Regions from separate parts of the Homo sapiens genome. Here region 2 is linked to region 1. The links are contacts of gene promoters, found by promoter capture Hi-C in blood cells and fetal thymus (Javierre and others, 2016). All regions are on one chromosome and are shown on one strand. Each heading gives the region's core, a stretch centred on a gene start or on the middle of the fragment in contact. The rest is flanking DNA. Distances are from core to core; before and after follow the strand shown.

Region 1 (5,057 bases), core at 2,558-5,057:
TGGACTTTGCCTTGCTGTGGCAGAAACTTTTTCCCACTGTATTAGTGTTAAAAATAAAAGAAAGCCTGGGAAAGGAATTGCCTCAGCATTGTGTGCTGGAGGAATGAGGCATGCTTGAATGGGGAGGCAGGGTCCCCCTTCGCATCTGTACTCATATCAGCAAAAACGATTCAGCTTTTCATGGCTGTTCACTGCAGTGTGGGGCCAGTGTACTCAGGGAGATATTTAAGAATTGTGTGTATAAAATTCAACCAGGCATGTCAGATCAGGTTGTGTACGTGTGCAGGTTTAGGTTTGTCTCTGTGGTTTTTAATGAAGTTGGTGGCAATATTATCGCAAGAGTCTTAACTCAGACTATTCAGTAGATAACTTGATTGTTTAGATGAACAAAATTTGCAATCCAATCTGGTCAAACAGTTTGGATTTTTCTCATGGAATTGTGTGTGTGTGTGTGATTATCTGTGTTCATTTCTTATCTCTAAAGCAACCTTCATCATTACTTTCAGTGTCTTTCTTTTTTCTCTGCTGAGAATTAAGATAACTCTCGATCTTTGGGCACTTCAAGTTCCATTCCTCAGTGATCCACTGTTATGCAGTGGAAAAAGCTTTAAGAGGCATAGTTTCTAATCCCAACACTGCCATGTGCTACTGTGCAAAACTTTGGGCAAGTCATTTAGACATTTTGAGAGCCTCGACTTTCTCTTATATGAAATAGCAATAATAAGACTTGTCCTGAAGGGCTGGGCACAGTGGCTCATGCCTGTAATCCCAGCACTTTGGGAGGCCGAGGCGGGCAGATCACCTGAGGTCAGGAGTTTGAGACCAGCCTGGCCAACATGGTGAAAACTCATCTACTAAAAATACAAAAATTAGCCAGGTGTGGTGGTGCATGCCTGTAATCCCAGCTACTCGAGAGGCTGAGGCACAAGAATCGCTTAAACCCAGGAGTTGAAGGTTGCAGTGAGCTGAGATTGTGCCACTGCACTCCAGCCTGGGCAACAGAGCAAGACTCTGTCAAAAAAAAAAAAAACAAACAAAACAAAACAAAAAAAAACCTGTTCAGAACACACATAGGATTGTTGTAAGGAATAAATGAGATGTTACATGTAAAAAAGTTGTATACACAGTCAAACACTACATGGATACTAATTATTGTGATAATTGTGATAGGGCTACTTCCCAGAATTATCTGAAAGAAAACTGTCATATATGACATCTCTAGTGTTATTGTTGTAACTAATGTTATGAGCAAATGTATGTTTAAAGAGTGTTTTCACTTGTGTAGAAAAAAATGTTGTAATAAATCCATCCTACACAGAGATGATCACAGACACAACCAGTTTTACTGCTTATTGTTTTACTTAAATGAAAGAGACCTTGGTTATAGTAAAATTGTATATAGAAAATCCTAAACCATAGTGCCAGTTAGTTGTCTTACTTCTTGCACTGTGACATCTAAAAAAATAAGTCCTTTAAGTTACACAACTGAGGCTATGTCAAAGCATCACAGCCTAAAAACATAAAAGCCACACTAAATCACGGATAGGTATAGAAGTAGCTGGAGGTAGTAGTGGACAAAGCCTTTCACACAGCTTTACAACAGAGCCGTGGATCCCTAAGGGCCAGACCTCAGTAAAGGGCAAACTATGCAATATAATGAAGCAGTTAAGAGGGTGAACTCTAGAGCCAGACTGCCTGGGTTTAAATGCCAGTCTACCAGCAATTGCCTGTGTGTACTTGAGCAAGTTTCTTAGTTTCTCTGGCCTCAGTTTCCTCATCTGTAAAATGGGAATAATATCATCTACTTCCCATGGTTGCTGTAAGATTAAATGAAATCATATACAGAAAGCAGTTAGAACTGTAACCCCTAAAAAATGTTATCTTGTGATTACTATCATGGTATGTATGTATGGCGAACTCAGCAAGAACTTGAAATTTGGTCTGCTGCTGATTGAGCTCCTGAACAGCCCTTCCTGGGTTATTTGTGCCTTCTTTTGGGGCCATATTTTGTGTTCACATGGTTACAGGGGATTTACCTTAATTCTTTAATCTGGCAAAGAGAACTTGTCTTATATAAGTAAAAACGATGGAATCTGTAGCCTAATACAATATTTTAGGCACATAACAGACCTGATAGAGTCAGAACGAGAAAGAATGCTCTTATACAAATTAGTGCAAATTGTATTATTGAACATTTATTAAGTTAAGCTCATACCATGTGAGGGTGATTGAGTGAAGCAAGGTAGAAACGCTCATTGAACTCAGAGTTTCCTGAACAAGTCTTCTATCGCAAGGTAGAGCGGAAAGAGTTTGAGGAGGTAGGCCTTCTTCCTATCTGCAGGCTGTTACCTCTCAGGTGGCTTCTCACAAGACAGAGAGATTTGGGTCCAGGCCAACAATCAGTGCTTGGGCCATTTGGTTTTGAAAGCCCACTTATTTCACTTTCCCAAGCTGATTGTTCAGTTGTAAAGGCAAGAATGGGGAATCTGATTGAAGAATTATTTGGAGGGGGATTCTCTAGAGCCATCTGAGAGATGAGCTAGAAAAATAGAAAAGCCCTAAGATCTACTGCTGTAGCCACCTGTTTTCTTTCTCATTCTGAATCCAAATCTTATCAATAGTATCCCTTGCCATAACAGCCTACGTTATAGGGTGGCGCTGGGTCAGGCTATCCGCAGCCTCCACATAGCTGTTGCCTTCCTCCTGGGAGCTGTTTAATACTTCCCTGTGGCAAGTACATAAAGCACCCTATTACCCAAGGAGATCATATATCCCACTTCTGGCTTACTCCTGCTATCCTGGCCTAATTATTAACAATGCTCTCTTTCACTCTTGAAAGTGCCCTGTTTGCATAATAAATATGATCACCAATGTACTGTAGTCTCCTGGGTCAGAACTGCCATCTCTGACCTTTTTAACATTCCTCCTTCATTAAGCCTCAGAAAATTCAGAAAACCTTCCATATCACATGCAACCACCCTAGAAAGTGCTCAAACAGGTTGTCAGAGATGACAAGAAGAATGAGTAGATACAGAAAGCAGCCATGGAGTGCCCCTTTAGCTAGCAGATTGCTTTCTGTAGCCCATCCATCATCCGGAAAGCATGATCATGACTGTTTGGTAGATATCTTAGTCTGGGTTGAATTTTCCAATAATTTTTGCATACATGGTGTGGGTTTTGATAATATGCCATATGACTTAATAGGAAGGGGGTTTATTTGTTAACTATGAATATGGTCACTGTGTATGAATAAAATAAGGGACTTTGATAAGTTGGGGGAAATGTAAACTTTCCCAAAGAATCTGGGCTTAGGCCTGTCTAAAGTGAAGGCAAAGTAAATAAATACATAAATAAAAATAAAGTGGAGGTTTAGTGTTCCATAAGAACAAGTCTTCCATTTGCCTTTCAGTTCTTTGCTGAAGCTGTAGGAATAGCAGGCAAACAAATCATCTGGTTATTAGGCCACTCTACCTCAGCCGAAGCTCTGGGGAGTTAATATGGATACCCAAAATGGCTGCGGCACTAAAGGCCGGAATTGGAGCAAAATTCAAGGTCCTTTTCCCTCAGGTCATCGTACCTACAGCTTGTATGCCGCAGCCTGTCCATCTCCCCACTTGCGTATGTAAGGGCAGTGCTTCTAGGAGCCATGAGCATTACTCACCTGAAACCTAGGTGTTAGGAATGCAACCAGCTAGATCTGACCCATGCCCTGTTTTGTGTCTGCGTTGACATGCTGCAGGTGACATCAGTTGCAAGGGGATGACCGAGCGCATTCACAGCATCAACCTTCACAACTTCAGCAATTCCGTGCTCGAGACCCTCAACGAGCAGCGCAACCGTGGCCACTTCTGTGACGTAACGGTGCGCATCCACGGGAGCATGCTGCGCGCACACCGCTGCGTGCTGGCAGCCGGCAGCCCCTTCTTCCAGGACAAACTGCTGCTTGGCTACAGCGACATCGAGATCCCGTCGGTGGTGTCAGTGCAGTCAGTGCAAAAGCTCATTGACTTCATGTACAGCGGCGTGCTACGGGTCTCGCAGTCGGAAGCTCTGCAGATCCTCACGGCCGCCAGCATCCTGCAGATCAAAACAGTCATCGACGAGTGCACGCGCATCGTGTCACAGAACGTGGGCGATGTGTTCCCGGGGATCCAGGACTCGGGCCAGGACACGCCGCGGGGCACTCCCGAGTCAGGCACGTCAGGCCAGAGCAGCGACACGGAGTCGGGCTACCTGCAGAGCCACCCACAGCACAGCGTGGACAGGATCTACTCGGCACTCTACGCGTGCTCCATGCAGAATGGCAGCGGCGAGCGCTCTTTTTACAGCGGCGCAGTGGTCAGCCACCACGAGACTGCGCTCGGCCTGCCCCGCGACCACCACATGGAAGACCCCAGCTGGATCACACGCATCCATGAGCGCTCGCAGCAGATGGAGCGCTACCTGTCCACCACCCCCGAGACCACGCACTGCCGCAAGCAGCCCCGGCCTGTGCGCATCCAGACCCTAGTGGGCAACATCCACATCAAGCAGGAGATGGAGGACGATTACGACTACTACGGGCAGCAAAGGGTGCAGATCCTGGAACGCAACGAATCCGAGGAGTGCACGGAAGACACAGACCAGGCCGAGGGCACCGAGAGTGAGCCCAAAGGTGAAAGCTTCGACTCGGGCGTCAGCTCCTCCATAGGCACCGAGCCTGACTCGGTGGAGCAGCAGTTTGGGCCTGGGGCGGCGCGGGACAGCCAGGCTGAACCCACCCAACCCGAGCAGGCTGCAGAAGCCCCCGCTGAGGGTGGTCCGCAGACAAACCAGCTAGAAACAGGTGCTTCCTCTCCGGAGAGAAGCAATGAAGTGGAGATGGACAGCACTGTTATCACTGTCAGCAACAGCTCCGACAAGAGCGTCCTACAACAGCCTTCGGTCAACACGTCCATCGGGCAGCCATTGCCAAGTACCCAGCTCTACTTACGCCAGACAGAAACCCTCACCAGCAACCTGAGGATGCCTCTGACCTTGACCAGCAACACGCAGGTCATTGGCACAGCTGGCAACAC
Region 2 (5,057 bases), core at 1,269-3,768, 190 kb after region 1:
TTCAATACACCCGCCCAAGCAAAGTATCAGACATATCTTGGGCACTCATTAGACCATGGCTATAGGGGTAATGGATGGACACACACCAACTCTTCTACCTCCTATGATATTAGAATAGAGTTAAATTGTACACATCTCTGAAGAGGCAAGCCACTATACTTTGAGAGGCAGGAAGAGTAATGGTAATATAAAGGGGTCAAAATCCTAGCTCCTTTTACAAGCTATGTGTCCTTAGGCAAATTACTCAACCCTTCCAGGTCTCCATTTGGCAAATTACTCAACCCTTCCAGGTCTCCATTTCTTTACCTATAAGTTAAAAATCACATTTACCTCTTCAGGTTGTGATGAGAAAATGTGTGAGAATTACCAGCATATTCTTGGCACCTAGATGCACTTTATTGATCCCTTACTATTTGTTGCTTGATATGGAGGATGTCAATAGAAAAAAAAAAATTCATTACAAGTCCCACCAATTAGAGACTCATTTTAATGAGTAAGCTCCAGGGAAGGCTAAGTGATGGCACCTTAGTGGGAATTATTTTAATCAGCTAATCAGATTGTTTTCTTCTTGACTCTTAGCTGAAATCAAGGAGAGAATGAGAATTTTCATGGCAGAATCAGGAGACAAGAAAAGAGGATAGCCAGAATGGGATGACAGGCCATTGGGGGCCTGGAAGCCAGAGAACAGCTTGAGGGCTTTGTCCTTTGGGGGCTAAGCAGGAGGGGTATTAAATAAAACTGTCTGTGTACTTTCACCAACCCCAAAGGCAGCACTTACCACTGTCTCTTGCACTATTCTTTGAACCCTGGGATAGAGGCAATCAGGAGAGTGTCTCTTTCCCTAGAAAGGAGATGATATGGTCTGTCACACAAAAATCCCTGAGGAACACCTGGTTTTCTTCTTTCCCCTAGTATCTACCCACTTCCATCCCTTTTCCAACAACTATCCCTCCTCACCTAACACTTCCCTATAGCAGGGTGTGTAACAACCTACATTCCAATGCTCTGTCTCCCTGTACTAGCCCTGTGACCTTGGACAAAGTGCTTATTCTTTCTAAGCTTTTAGATTCTTCCTCTGCAATGAAGATAATAATCCTCTGTCATAGAATTATAATCGGCAATAGAGGCCACGTATGTAAAGTGCTTTGCAGAACACCAGGCACTTAGTAAGCGTTCAATAAATGTTAGCTATTATTATGACAGATTATGTCAGAGGTCATTTATTATTTCAGAATATATTTTCATGGTTGGGCCCTGCTCTGGGAGCTGGGGGTGCAGCAGCAAACAAGTAAATCTTCCTGCTCCTGTTGGTGTTGGTTAAGTAACAATAACTCCATCCCCTATCAAGTAAATGTATAACTTGTCTTCAAAAAGCTTTAAGAACACATACAATAAAAACAAATTCAGTTTTCAAAGTCTGAAGTTTCAAAGTTATAGAAATTCCTGGAATGGGTCATGTGGGTTGGTAACACATGTACAGTGAATTCTCAATAAATGTTAATTCCTATTAACAATATTAGGATATCATGATGATCTCTAGTATTTTATTGATGAATGCCTTACTTCTCCAGTTATCTTGTAAATTCTTTAAGGATAGGCCCTGTAGTACATTTTGTAAAACCTCTCAACACACATGACATACACTGCTGCAAACCAAGTACTAAGAGCTTCACAAGTATTTGCTCTACAAGTGCATGAATGAATGAATATCCAGCAAACACTGAAGTTTGCTGTTATCCTAACTATCCTTTCTCACCTACTCTAGCCCAAAACACAAACAAACATGTGCTCACAATTATGCCAAAAAGTGTTTTTTTACCCAATTTAAAACATTAACTGCAGAGTAGATATAATATTGAAATAAAATTTAGTATACAAAATCAGCTTTTGCAAGACGCTTTTACAGTATGCAACTGTCCTATGTAATGAAGAAAACCTTCTTTTATTCTCTTGGTTCCCCTAAATCATTGTGTTATTATGACTCTTTAGATCGGAATTCTTATGTCTCAATCTTTTAAAAGCTTTTTATTCTCAGAATTCCTATAAATTCATATTCAGCCTTTATTTATATAGAGCCAATTGGTCAAACTAAAAGAGAGACAGTAAATCCATAACTGGATTTGACTTCTTCACTAGTTTTAATTTTCATTGTTGCTTTTAAACAAAAAATCATTGGTCAGGGTTTCTCAAAACAGTCTGGAGATGACCAAGCACAGGAATAAAATGAGATGCAAAAAAAGAAATAAATCCAATGGGAAGAAGTTATCAGGGACAGGGAAGGAAAGACGGCCTTTTAGGACCTTATTTTATTGGGATAAAACAGAAATGAACACTAAAGTGACCTGGTCATATAAGAAGATCCTTGGATGAGAAAATCCAGATGAAGGAATAGCACTATCTTTATGCACAGTCATTTGGTCAGTATCTGTTTTCTTATTGGGAAGCTACTTCAGAGGCTACTGTACCATTTTTCACTCTTTCTTCCTCTTAAATGGCCATTGGGCCTGTTCAGGAGCGGTATTGTGAATACTCAGCTACAGCCAGAGGCACAAAGCCTGGCAGGTTTCTCCCCGAGAACTAGGGTCCCCAAGAATGACAGCCCACCCCCCCAGGAAAGAAGCTGGTAACTGCACAAAGCCTCGCGGTCCATGAGTGGCCTTTGGTGGACATTTTAAAAGTGTCAATCTCCCTGACACATCTTCCTGATTCAATTAGGGTATGTAAAGGTTTCAAAAATAAATAGAAATATACTAGAGTATAAATGATATTATATAAATTCCTGACTGTAAGCATTACTCAGAGGATGTTATGGAGCTTGAAATACATGTATAGATAGATGCATGAGGTTGAAACCATCCTCATGAATTCTGAGTAGTGGAGAGAATCCAGCCCTTTTCCCCACTTTTGGTTTTTGGGATGTGGGTGGGGAGGGAGAGTGTTGAAGGCAGTCACATTGGCACAGACTTATTTTACATAGATTCCCATAAATGTTGTTTCAGAATGTTTCCAAGCTTTACAAGCTGAAGCCAGATAGATTTTTACTTTGGAGGTAAATTTTATGAAAAATGTGTTCTTAGCTTATTTCTTGAGTGCATGATGAGCTCTCTACTGGGTGAAGGACTTCAGAGAGACAGTTTTGGCACAATGTACACATCGGGTAGTCACCGAAGTCCTTTTACCACCAGCTGAGCATCTATGAGGAAGTTATCACTTAACCACAAGGAGCATTAGTTGCCTCCTGAGTTTGAATTTCAACAGTGATTCTCAAACCTTGGTATGTATAGGAGTGTTTATTTAAAAATGAAGATTTTAGCCCAGCTTGGTGGCGCATGCCTGTATTCCCAACTACTTGGGAGGCTGAGGCAGGAGAATCACTTGAACTGGGGAGGTGGAGGTTGTGGTGAGCCGAGATCGCACCATTGCACTCCAACCTGGGCAACAAGAGCAAAACTCCATCTCAAAAAATAAAATAAATTTAAAAAAAATAAAAAAGAAGATTTACAGACCAAAGAGCCAAAGATTCTGACTCAGTAGGTATAGGAAGGATTCAGAAATCTACATCTTTAATAAACACCCCACTGTGGACCACACTTTGAGAATCACTGGACTAACTGACTTGGAAGATCACTTCCAGCATTAGCATTCTAACATTCTGTGAACTTGTCCTTTCTTTAGGCAACCAGTTTTGGATAGCCTGGCACTCCCTTGATGTCCATCTGCCCTGTGGGAACAACGGTACACAGGGAGTAGGAGTGCCAACATCTACACTAGGCAGCAAAGCAAAGAAAATAGGGCCAACTGGGTTGTCGTTCCTTCACTGGGGTAAACACTAACATCCTTGTCTCTGATACCCAGGTGACAGGTGGAGTCTGGAATTTCAGCCGCATTTGCTGTGATGTTTTTGTCACCCTGGATGTCATGATGTGTACAGCCAGCATCCTTAATCTCTGTGCCATCAGCATAGACAGGTAGGGCTGCAATTCCCCTTCCAGGTGGCCCAAAAGCTGGGGAAGTGGGGAGAGACAGATTGTGCACTTGAGGGTACTGGGGTCACCTCCAAGTAGAACTTGACACTGGAACATTTTCTTTCCTCTCTTTTTCTTTTAAAGTATGGTTTGCAGGTGAGAAGAAACCCCTGCGACAGGTGGGAAATAACGACCCTATAAGCTTTCCTGGCCTTTCTTCTCCTCCAGCTCCCTGAAGAGGATTCTGGTTTTGCTTTTCCACCATCCTTTGGGGTTTTTTTTTTCTTCCTAATAGGAAGGAAAGCTTCCCATTAGGGAGGGGGAGAAGGAGGAAAGGTGAGCTGACTGGGGTTGGTAGGAAATTCTGTTGTTGTTTTGTTTGTTTTTGTTGAAGGGAGAGATGGAGAGAAGGTGGGAGAGAGAAAGAGAAAGAAAGAGGGGCAGGTGTAGGGATAATTTTTGAGGGGGAGAGAGGAGAGAAGTGGGGGAGAAAGGCAATTTTAGAAAGCATGGCTGTGATCTATATGTTTCTCTCATAGAGCTTAGAGAAGCAAGTATAGTATGTTTTTTAAAATTACATTTTGGTTGCTGGGGTGAATTGCTGTGATTTTGACTCCTCTCTCTGTGTGTTCTGCCTGAGTAACATTGCTTTCTATCCCTGAGAGCACCTGGACTCACCACCCTTGCTCTGGGTCCCTCTGTTTCTCCCTTCCCCTCTCCTTTTGTCTTCCTCTCTTCTTTCCCCTTTCCTCTGCCTGAGCCTGAGATTTGCCTGGCTCCCCTGGGACATCACCAGCCTCACTGAGAGCCCTGGGGGAAAGGAGGTCACTTTCAAGCCTATGGCCCTTGCTGCCAGTCAAAAGCCTCCTCCCATTCCTGCTCTGAGTTCTCTCCCTCCCACTTTCCATTCCGCTTCTTCTCCTTCTCCCAGTAATATCATCCATCCACCTCATAGCTCCAACAGGTGACCCCAAATAAGATCTGCCATTTATTGAGAATTTATCACATTGTGCTAAGCTTTGACACACATTAACTCATTTCATCTTCACAATTCTTAGGTACTGTTATTATCTTATGTATTATCTTAGGTAC

What was found. The method cuts DNA at HindIII sites, captures the fragments that hold promoters and counts their contacts. A CHiCAGO score of 5 or more calls a contact.
Region 2: a contact is called between a fragment that was not itself captured here and the fragment with the promoter of ZBTB20-AS1 in region 1, in 1 of 17 cell types (total CD8 T cells). The highest score is 5.1, in total CD8 T cells.

The regions. Positions count from the first base shown.
Region 1 is chr3:114,350,561-114,355,617 of GRCh38, reverse strand. It overlaps ZBTB20-AS1 (ZBTB20 antisense RNA 1), which reads right to left and starts at 3,807. Exons shown (of 9, transcript NR_038993.1): 1 at 3,662-3,807. It overlaps ZBTB20 (zinc finger and BTB domain containing 20), which reads left to right. Exons shown (of 12, transcript NM_001348800.3): 11 at 3,740-5,057. The HindIII fragment of the contact is 4,056 bases long and covers 608-4,663 here.
Region 2 is chr3:114,158,666-114,163,722 of GRCh38, reverse strand. DRD3 (dopamine receptor D3) reads left to right here. Exons shown (of 7, transcript NM_000796.6): 3 at 3,856-3,968. Among named protein-coding and RNA genes, the nearest start is that of DRD3, 18 kb to the left of the region's middle. The HindIII fragment of the contact is 990 bases long and covers 2,024-3,013 here.